Regions from separate parts of the Homo sapiens genome. Here region 2 is linked to region 1. The links are contacts of gene promoters, found by promoter capture Hi-C in human tissues and cell types (Jung and others, 2019). All regions are on one chromosome and are shown on one strand. Each heading gives the region's core, a stretch centred on a gene start or on the middle of the fragment in contact. The rest is flanking DNA. Distances are from core to core; before and after follow the strand shown. Region 1 holds the start of FLII (FLII actin remodeling protein). Region 2 has its middle 42 kb from the start of FAM106A.

The links. The method cuts DNA at HindIII sites, captures the fragments that hold promoters and counts their contacts. A contact is called where the count stands out against the background at its distance.
Region 2: a fragment that was not itself captured here is called in contact with the fragment with the promoter of FLII in region 1 in 1 of the 25 tissues and cell types used here (spleen).

What each region holds. Positions count from the first base shown.
Region 1 is chr17:18,256,822-18,261,923 of GRCh38, forward strand. It overlaps FLII (FLII actin remodeling protein), which reads right to left and starts at 1,917. Exons shown (of 30, transcript NM_002018.4): 1 at 1,807-1,917; 2 at 88-198. The coding sequence starts at 1,869. MIEF2 (mitochondrial elongation factor 2) reads left to right here and starts at 3,841. Exons shown (of 4, transcript NM_139162.4): 1 at 3,841-3,916. RefSeq lists enhancers at 1-549, 1,209-1,288, 1,288-1,789, 3,399-3,528, 4,150-4,770 and 1 more and silencers at 1,459-1,598, 1,609-2,008. The HindIII fragment of the contact is 13,885 bases long and covers 1-5,102 here.
Region 2 is chr17:18,566,719-18,571,820 of GRCh38, forward strand. It overlaps the pseudogene CCDC144BP. Among named protein-coding and RNA genes, the nearest start is that of FAM106A, 42 kb to the left of the region's middle. RefSeq lists an enhancer at 2,568-3,301. The HindIII fragment of the contact is 3,931 bases long and covers 186-4,116 here.

The sequences.
Region 1 (5,102 bases), core at 667-3,166:
TCTGGAGAAGTTGTCTGCCTTCTCCACAGGCTCTGCCCACCTGGCTCATCCACAGGGACCCTCCCCTGCCCGCCCAAACCCCCTTACCAGCTTCTGCAGGGCGGCCAGCTCCTCGGGCAGGTAGCAGAGGCCAGTGCGGTTCAGCTTCAGCCACCGCAGGCTGGTCATGGCCTTGACATTCTCAGGGAAGTAGCCGCCCTGGGGGAAGGATGTCAAGGTGAAGCACAGAGCCCCTGCTCACCACCTTCTATGGCTCCTCCAGCCCATGGGAGCCTTTGGGGAGCCACAGAACCAACTCTCACCATCTGTGAGAACACAGACAAGTCATTTCATCATTGTGCCTCAATTTCTTCACCCATAGAATGGGAATTTTAAGCCCCCCCGTGACAAAAGTGTTGGCCTAAGATTTGTCTCTCCTACTGGATTCTGGGCCCCAGGAGGGCCAGGACAAAACTGGCTTGTTTCAGGTGAAAGCCCAGCATCCGGCTCTGTGGTTAGCTCGGCTCAAATTCCTTCACCTAGCATTCCACACTCTGACTGGCTGCCTGGGGTGGGGGATCCCCCTTCCAAGCCTTTGCAAAGGCGCCACCTGTGCCCTCATCCTGCCATCAGCACACTGGCAACTCACGGCCAGGGTCAAACCCTTGCTTGCGGAGACCGTGGCTCCCCACCCTGCAGGGCAGGCCAGCATCACTGCACTCCCCTGGTGTGTGAACGCCCACCTCGGCACCTCCAGCCCTTGTGGCACCAAGTCTGGGGCAGTAGGTGCCTTCAGTGCCTGCGGCTGATATTCCTTTCCCCCTAGCGCCACATTCCCAGCTGGTGACTCGGACTCTCCCAGTTCAGCAAAGAGGAACGGGGACCCCAGGTTAGGGTGGTGGGGATGGGGTCAGGGAAAAGTGGTGTAGCCACTTGTACTTGGGGTCAAAGGTGTGTACACAGGCAGGTAAACGCAGGAAAAACCTGCCTCCTCGGCCCCAGCCCCAGACCAACAACCCAGGCCGACCCTGCCAGTCACCCACCCTGAAGGTGAGGCTGACCCTCCAGCCAGCTCTCCCTCCCTCTCTTTCTCTGCTTCCCCTTTGGTCAGGCAATGCCTGTCTCATTCTTGAGTCCTGGAACCACCCCGCCGCCCCACCCACTGGCTGCGGAGGGCTGGGCTCCGGTCCCTTTTCTCTCAGTCCAGCAGCTGCTCAGACAACTGCCACCCAGCACCTGGCACACCGGCCTGACACACTCTCCACACCAACAAATCTCACTATACTCCTTGCGTCCAAGGAGGAGACTTTTAAGCCCCTTCACCGGCTGAGAAAGCCTAGGCTCTGAGAGGGGAAGTGATCTGAGAGGCCCAGGATCACACAGTATGGCGGGTGGCGGTGGCGGGGAGAGGGCAGTGATGAGTCGGCTCCACACCCGCCCCTGGGCAGCCGGGCAGCCATCCCTGAGTCAGGGCCTGGCTTGGGCGTGTGACCTCAGAGGGGCGGGGAGGCTCGCCCGATCCCCAGGCCACCATCCAGCCTAGACCGAGAACACGGACGCGGGGTGGGGGCTCCCGGCCGGGCCCCCGGCGGGACTCCGAGCCCAAGCGTCCGTCCCCGGCCTGCCCAGCCTCGGTCTCCCCGTACAGGCACTGGGCGGAGGCCTCGGAGGTCCATTCCTGGCCAGGGGAGAGCCCCACCCCGCCCCGGCCGCAGTCCCTGGGACACGCAGGGCCTGGAGCCGAGCGGGACAGGAAGCGGAGGCCAAGCGGGCCGGGCGGAAGAGAAGGCCTGCAGGGAGGCCCGGCACGCGCCCGGCCCGGCTCACCTTGAAGTCGTTGCCGCTGAGGTCCACGCCACGCACGAACGGCAGCACCCCGGTGGCCTCCATGGCGCCGCTCTCGCTGCCGGGCCGCGCCGGGCTAGGGAGCGCCGGGGCGAGGGCGCTGGGGGGAGCCGCGGGCTGGGCCAGCGCCGGCCCCGCCCCTTTAACCCGCCCGCGCCCGCCGCATTCCGCGGGGAAGTGTAGGCTTTAGGCCTCTTAGGGCCTCAGTTTCCCCGTCTGTTCGAAGACTGCGGAGGCACCAAGGAGTGCGGGCCCCCCCTGTGCTGGAGTTGGAGGCTTCCACGATCTCCAGGCTTAAGTCCCAGCGCCCCAGGGCAGGGGCCGTAACGGCCGCTGGTCGAGGCACCGTCACCTGCGCTGCTGCAGCACATGAAGCTGGCCCTGACCTCAGAGAGATTCTAAACCTCGGCCCCGGGGCGCAGAGGCCCAGGAAGTGCCTGTACTTGGCTGACCGGTGGTAGTGAGACACCTGGATCCTCGGGTCCTAGCTCTCCTGCTTCTGGACTTAGTTTCCTCATGTGTTGTTTTTGTTTTGTTGAGACAGGGTCTTCTTGCTCTGCTGCCCAGGCTGGAGTGCAGTGGTGTGATCATAGCTCACTGCAGCCTCGAACTCCTGGGCTCAGCCTCCCGACTACCTGGGATTATAGGCGCAGGCCACCACACCTGGCTAAATTTATTTATTTTATTTATTTTTTATTTTTTTTGAGACAGAGTCTCGCTCTGTCGCCCAGGCTGGAGTGCAGTGGCGCAGTCTCGGCTCACTGCAACCTCCGCCTCCCGGGTTCACGCCATTCTCCTGCCTCAGCCTCCCGGGTAGCTGGGACTACAGGCACCCGCCACTACGCCCGGCTAATTTTTTTTTTTTTTTTTTTTGTATTTTTAGTAGAGACGGGGTTTCACCGTGTTAGCCAGGATGGTCTCGATCTTCTGACCTCGTGATCCAACCGCCTCGGCCTCCCAAAGTGCTGGGATTACAGGCGTGAGCCACCGCGCCCGGCCTTATTTATACTTTTTGTAGACACGGGGTGCTTGCTATGTTGCCCAGGCTGGTCTTGATCTCCTGGCCTCAAGTGATCCTCTGGTATCAGCTTCTCAGAGTGTTGGGATGACAGGCGTGAGCCACCGCGCCCTACCCAGTTTCCTCATTTGTAAAATACTTTCTAAGGTTGTCACCATGAGCAAATTAACAAAGAATGCACGTGTAGCTCGCAGCATACAGCAGGCGCTCAGTGAGTGGCAGGTTATTATTCCGTTTTGTTTTGTTTTGTGCGCCAGGTTATTATTCCCACTTAGTGTCAGCACCCCTGTGCTCGTACCCCCCTACAAAGGGAGGCTCCAGAAGAGAAGCATCCGTCTTGGTCCTTGCTGTTCAAGGGGGCTCGCCCTGGCTGACACATAGCAGGACCCCAATAAATGAGCCACAGCTGTTATATGCCCAACCATCCTTCGCAGGGGAGGAGGGGGTCTAGTGTCCCCATTTTACAGGAGAAAAACTGATGCCCAGGTGGAGAATGGCCCACACAAGCTCGCACAGAGCAGGTGGCAGGGGTAGGCGCTGTGCCCCTCAGGCCCACAGGTAAGAATGAGGCCACCAAGACACTCTCTCGCAGAGGTGACCTAAGAGGTTGGATGTGCCGGGCCTCTAGCCATGTGCAGCCTCTCTACCTGGTCCCCAGAAGGAACGGGGCCCAGACAGCTTCCTCCACACCGGAGGCTCACATTACAACGCACAGACGTCCTGGAGGGTCGCCTGTCACGTCACCTGTTCGCGGTCTCGGAATGCAGCCCTGCACCTTTAAATCCAGACTGCGTCAGGGAGTCCCGCCCCAGAGGGAGTGCGGCTGTCGGCTGGGGGGCGGGACCTGCCCTTCATTGGCTGAACCGCGCAGTATTTTGGCACCTGTGCGCTGGACTCGAGCGCTCCGATTGGAGTTAGGGCCTGCTTGTCTGCGTGCTGCGAAGTCCGCGGCTGCCCCCGGGGCCCTAGTCGTTGGGTTCCAGGGTCCTTCACGTTCCATTCCCAGGCTGGTCTGAGCTCCGGGGCCGTGGTCCCGCTGCCTCCTCCGGTCGTCGTGCGGAAGCTGCGACGCAGGTACAGCTGGAGCGCGGCGGGGCGGCCCCCAGGGTCACCGGGCTCGGGGCTTGGCGCGCGACGGAACGCAGATCGGGGGCGTGGCCCGCGATCACCGCTGGGGAAGGCGGGGAGGGGACCTTTGGGGGACCAAGGGCAGCGTTCGAATCCTAGCCCAGCCCCCTTCCCCTCTCGGTCTCTTGGTTTATCCTGCGAACGGGGCGTCACCCGCCCACCTAGGGCTGCTGCGCGGCCTGCTCCGCCCGGGCCCAGGGCAGGCAGGTTTGGCGGAGGAGGGAAGGCCAAACGGCCTCCAGGGCCCCGCTGCGCAAACTTGGGTTATTTTCAGCCACCCGTGCCCTTTCCTGCTTCTCGGAGCTGGAAGGCTGTGGACTGAGGCCTGCGCGACCCCGCCAGAGATGGGGCTGAGTCCCAATTTAGACAGGTTGGGAGTATTTAAAGCGCTTTACAGTTTGCAAAGTAGATTCCTGGTCTCTCTGGGGGCGGGTGGCAGTATTGATCCCCGAGTCACCGATGAGGAGATTGAAACCGGCCCTGGGGCCGTGGCGGGTCACCCGGTTGGCCTGGGATCGCCCCAGAGACCGTCTTATTTTTAGTCTGGGGCGAATGGGCGGGTGTACGGGGCTGAGTCACACAGCGCTTCAGGCTTCAGCTACTCCAGGCATCTGGTCACCTGGCAACTGGGCCCCTGGCACCCACACTCTGGCAGGGCAGGTAGAAGTCCTTGGTGCCCGGGCAGGCTGTGACCTCATGGTCATCTGCTCAGGCCTCCCCGGGAGAGTTCTGCTTGGTGTCTAACTGATGTCCTAAGGTCCCAGCCCTTCTCAGCTCCCAGGGCCTGAGGGCAGTGTCCCCCTCGCAGAACGTGAGGAATGTGGACTGGGCCCTAGGAGATCTTTGCCTCCACTTCCCAAGTGCTGGCCCCCACCCAGCCACACACTTCAAGGCTGCCCACATCTGCCCCTCACTGCTGCCTATGCCATCTTACAGGTGAGCAAACAGGCTGGGGCCCAGGCCTTCACCTTACTTTCTGTGTTGCTTGGCCTTCCGGCAGTTGAGAAGCATCACCCACCACTACCTACACATTGTCCCAAGACTGAGAGGCCCAGAGAGCCCCCTGTACAGAGGCACTGGGCAGCCCTTTCTGCCCTGCCAAAGGGGCTTCAACCCTGACAAGCACATCTGC
Region 2 (5,102 bases), core at 901-3,400, 310 kb after region 1:
ACATCTAAATAAGCACAATCAGAAACAACAAAGATGACATTACAACCAATCCCATAGTAATACAAAAGATCCTCAGAGACTACAATGAACACCACTGTATACACACAAACTAGAATATCTAGGAGAAATGGATAAATCCTTGGAAACCAACAAAGATTGAACCACGAGGAAACTAAAATCATGAACAGACAAATAACAAGCTCTGAAATTGAATCAGTAATAAAAAACCTACTAGCCAAAAACAGATTCAGATCAGACTGACTCATAGTCAATTTCTACCAGACATACAAAGAAGAGCTGTTAACAAACCTAATGAAACTATTCCAAAATATTGAGGAGATACTTCTCCCTAACTCATTGTATGATGCCAGCATCATCTTGATACTAAAAGCCAGCAAAGACACAATGAATAAAGAAAACTACAGCCCAATATTCCCAATGAATGTAGACACCAAAGTCCTCAATAAAATATCAGCAAACAAAATCCAGCAACACATCAAAAACTTACTTCACCACAATCAAGTCAGCTTTATTTTTGTGATGCAATTGGTTCAAAGTACACAAATCAATAAATGTGTTTCACCACATAAACAAAATGAAAACGAAAAACCATATGATCAACTCAAAAGATGCAAAAAAGCTTTCAATAACGTCCATCATCCCTTCATGAAAAAAACACCCAACAAATTAGGCATCAAAGAAACAGACCTCAAAATAATAAAGGCCACTCTATGACAAACCCACAGCTGAAACCATACAGAATGGGCAAAAGCTGGAAGTGGGGGCTAAGTGCAGTGGCTCATGCTTGTAACCCCAGCATGCTGGGAGGCAAAGACAGGAGAATCACTTGAGGCCAGGAGTCTGAGACCAGGCTGGGCAACACAGTGAGACCTTGTCTCTGTAAAGTAGTAAAGAAAAAAATTAAAGAAAAAAGAACAAAAACAGTTGGAAGCATTCCCCTTGCCAACTGGAACAAGACAAAGATGCCCACTCTCACCGTATGTATTCAACATAGTACTGGAACTCCTAGCCAGAGCAATCAGGAAAAAGAAAGAAAGAAAAGCCATCCAAAAAGGAAAAGAAGCCAAACTATCTCTCTTTGCTGATGATATGATTCTGTACCTAAAAAACTCTAAAGAGTTTGCCAATTTATCCTGGAACTGATAAATGACTTCAGTCAGGACACAAAAATCAATGTAAAAATATCCATAGCATTTCTATATACCAATAAAGTTCAAGCTGAGAGACAAATCAAGAATGTAATCCAATTTATAATAGCCACACACAAAAAAGCAAAATACTTAGGAATGCATCTAACTACAGAGATGAAAGGTGGTTACAAGGAGAACTACAAAACACTGCTGAAAAAAAATCATGACACCAAATAGATGACACCAAAAAAATGGCAAAACATTCCATGCTCATGAATTGGAAAAATCAATCGCATTAAAATGGCCATACTCCAGAGTTTGCCACATATGGGTGGTCCGTCTGTTCCTGTCCCCTGTGAGATCCAGCACTGAGGCACAAAGGACAGGAGAGGGTGGGGAGGGGTGGCAGCGTGAGTCTCACTGGGTGTGAGCTGGCCAGCCCCCTGGCTCAGTGCTCCCTCCTCCACCTCCTTTGAACGGGGGACATACCATGTGGCTAAGAAGGGCAACTCAGCATCTGCCGCTCAGGCTAGGTGGACAGTGAGGAAGGGGACATGGGAGGTCTGAGGCTTCAAGGCTAGTGTCTCCACAGGCGCTGGCAGTGATTTCTTTTTTAAGCTGCTCTCCCTCCCTTCCCTCCGCCTGCCTCCATCCTAATTGAAGCCATCGCCTCTTCAGTTACACTGCTTCCTAAAATAGTGTTCTGATCACGCCCTGGGTGCTCACTGAAAATGCTTCAGGGGCTCCCTGCCATCTATTGGAAAAAGGCAGAAATCCTTAGGCTGGCGTGCCAGGGTCCAATCAGAAAAGCGAAACCCACCTGGGATGTTTCCGCAGAGGGAACTTCGTGTAGGGCATTGTTATGGGCGTGGGAAGACTGAAAGGGCAAAGAGAGACCGCTGGGACAGAGAGTGGCAGAAGCAGCTTCCACCCCTGCAGCCAGAGGGACAGAAGGAAGGCAGGTTTGGAGGAGGGCCCGGGTCTCTGATGGGGAAGAAGGGCCGCTGCTGGTAAGTGGTGGGAGAAACAGCCTTGGGGATGGCAGGTAAACCTGTCTCCTGCCTCCCACCTTCCCTTCTCCATCTAGTGTCCCCTTGTGGGGAAATTTAACAGGGAACCCAGAGACGAAAGAGATGGGGTTTGCAGAATCCCTGCACCAGAGAGCAAAGTGGTTTGAAGCTGAGCGACATTTGCTTCCTAATGGGCACAGGTGGCACTCTAGGTTTCCGTGTCTGGCCCCAAACTCCTGGCTACACTCTGACCAGCCAGCATGTCACCTCCTGCCAAGCTCAGTTGTTCTGGAGGTCCCTGTCGTCAGATCTTTGCCCTTCATCACCCGTCAAATTCAGGACTTCGTTGAAATGCTACTTCCCTGATACCTTCTCGTACTTCCATTCTTAAACCTTTGTTGCTGTTAAGTGTTGAGATGAAACATGTTTGCTTTGTATTCTAGAAGTTTCTGTGATTGACCATACCTGAGCGCAGAGATTAACTGGGGTTTGTTCCAGAAACAGCATTAATCACAGTGCCCGGCACATAGAAGGGTCCAGAACTTGGAGCAAGTAACTGAACTCAGGCAGTTCCCACGCAGGCCACAGAGTTGGACAAAAACAGCTTGACCCTGGGGCTTGCACTCAAAATGAGCCTTACCCCTTTAAGAGAGGGCAGGTCTTTTCCCTCTCCGGCTCACCCCACCCCTCCTACACAGTAACTGAAACCTGATCTAATCCCTTTGCACGCGGGTAATTTATTGGTCTGTTGAGCTTTTCTTGGTGGCAAATTGCATTGTCTTTATTCCTGGGTTCAGGCTCTGCAGCGGCTCACTGCATTCCTAGGACTCCTTTCTAAGGGTCGATCCTTCACACCTCCTCGTGCACTGCAAAGTAAGTCTTATTGGGCTTCTTTGTTATGCAAACAGGGCGGTAATAATCAGGCTATTATTCTGAAAGATTGGGCTTGATTAACAGTTCAAAGGAGGTCTCTGAAAGCAGCTAGTGCCTCATTGGTGCATAAATATTTTCATCCTGCCAGCGTTGGTGCAGCTGGTGCTCCAAGCGCCCTCCCCTATCTTTCTGATTCTCAGAGGTGCTAGGTTGCTATTAAAAGGAAAAGAACTAAGTCAAAAAAAAAAAAAAAAAAAAAAAAAGGCCATACTGCCCAAAGCAATCTACAGATTCAATACCATTCCTATCAAACTACTAACGTCATTTTTCACAGCATTAGAAAAAACTATTCTAAAATTTCATATGGAACCAGAAAAGAGCCCAAACACCCAGAGCCATCCTAAGCAAAGAGAACCAAGCCTGATGCATCACATTACCCAACTTCAAACTATACTACAGTAAACAAATGCTACACTAAACAAATCAGCACGGTACTGGCACAAAAACAGACACATAGACCAATGGAACAGAACAGAGAGCCCAGAAATAAAGCCACATGCCTACAACCACTGGGTCTTTGACAAAGCCGACACAAATATGCAATGGGGAAAGGACTCCCTATTCAATAAATGGTGCTGGGATGACTGGTTATCCATACACAGAAGAATGAAACTTGACCCCTAGCTATAACAACATACAAAAATTAATGAAAGCTGAATTACATTCTTAAAAGTAAGACCTCTAACTATAAAAATCCTACAAGAAAACCTAAGAAATGCACTATTAGAAATCAGCCTCTGAAAGTAATTTATGAATAAGCCCTCAAAAGCAATTGCAACAAAAGTCAAAATGAAAAATTGGGACCTAGTTAAACAAAGGAGCTTCTGCATAGGAAAAGGAACCATTCAAGAGACTAAATAGGCAACCTAAACAATGAAAGAATGTATTTACAAGCTATGCATTGAACAAAGTTCTACTATCCAGAACCTATAAGGAACTTAAATCAACAAACAAGAATTTAAAAAAATATATAAAAGCGGGCAAAATACATTAACAGACACTTCTCAAAAAAAGACATAAAAGTGGAGAGCAAACATATGAAAAAATGCTCATCATCACTGATCATCAGAGAAAAGCAAATCAAAGCCACAATGACATACCATCTCACACCAGACATAATGGCTATTACTAAAAAGTCAAAAAATAAGCAACAACAACCCAGATTTTGGCAGAGCTGCTACAGCGAAAAGGGAATTCTAATACACTATTGGAGAAAATGGTAAATTCGTTCAGCCACTGTGGAAAGCAGTTTGGAGGTTTCTCTCACGGAACTAAAAGTAGAACTGCCATTCAACCCAGCAATCCCATTAGTTGGTTAAATATCCACTTCCCACCACCAAAAAATCATTCTACCAAAAAGACACATGCACCCAATGTTCACTGCAGCACTATTCACAATAGCAAAGATATGGACTAAAACCAGAAGCTCATCAATGATGCACTGGATTAAGAAAATGCAGCACATATACAATATGGAATACTATGCAACTATAAAAAGAACAAAATACTGCCCTTTGCAGCAACATCGATGCAGCTGGAGGCCATTATCCTAAGCAAACTGATGCAGAAACAGAAAACCAAATACTACATGTTCTCACTTGTAAGTGGGAGCTAAACACTGGGTACACATGGACATAAAGATGGGAGCAATAGACAGTGGGGACTATAAGAAGGGGAACTGGGTTGGACAACGGTTGAAAAATGACATGCCAGGTACTATGCTCATTACCTGGGTGCCAGGTTCAACTGCACCCTAAACCTAAGCATTATGCAATATACCTGTGTAACAAACCTGCACATGTACTCCCTGAATCTGAAAGTTAAGAAAGAGAAAGAATAAGATAAAAATAAAATGCCCTTTTTAACTTGCAATAAAAAAACACCAATAACATTCTTCACAGAAATGGAAAAAACAATCCTAAAATTCATATGGAACTGCAAAAAAGCTAGACTATACAAGCCAAGCCTGAGGGAAAAGAACAGAGCTGGAGGCATCACTCCACCTGAC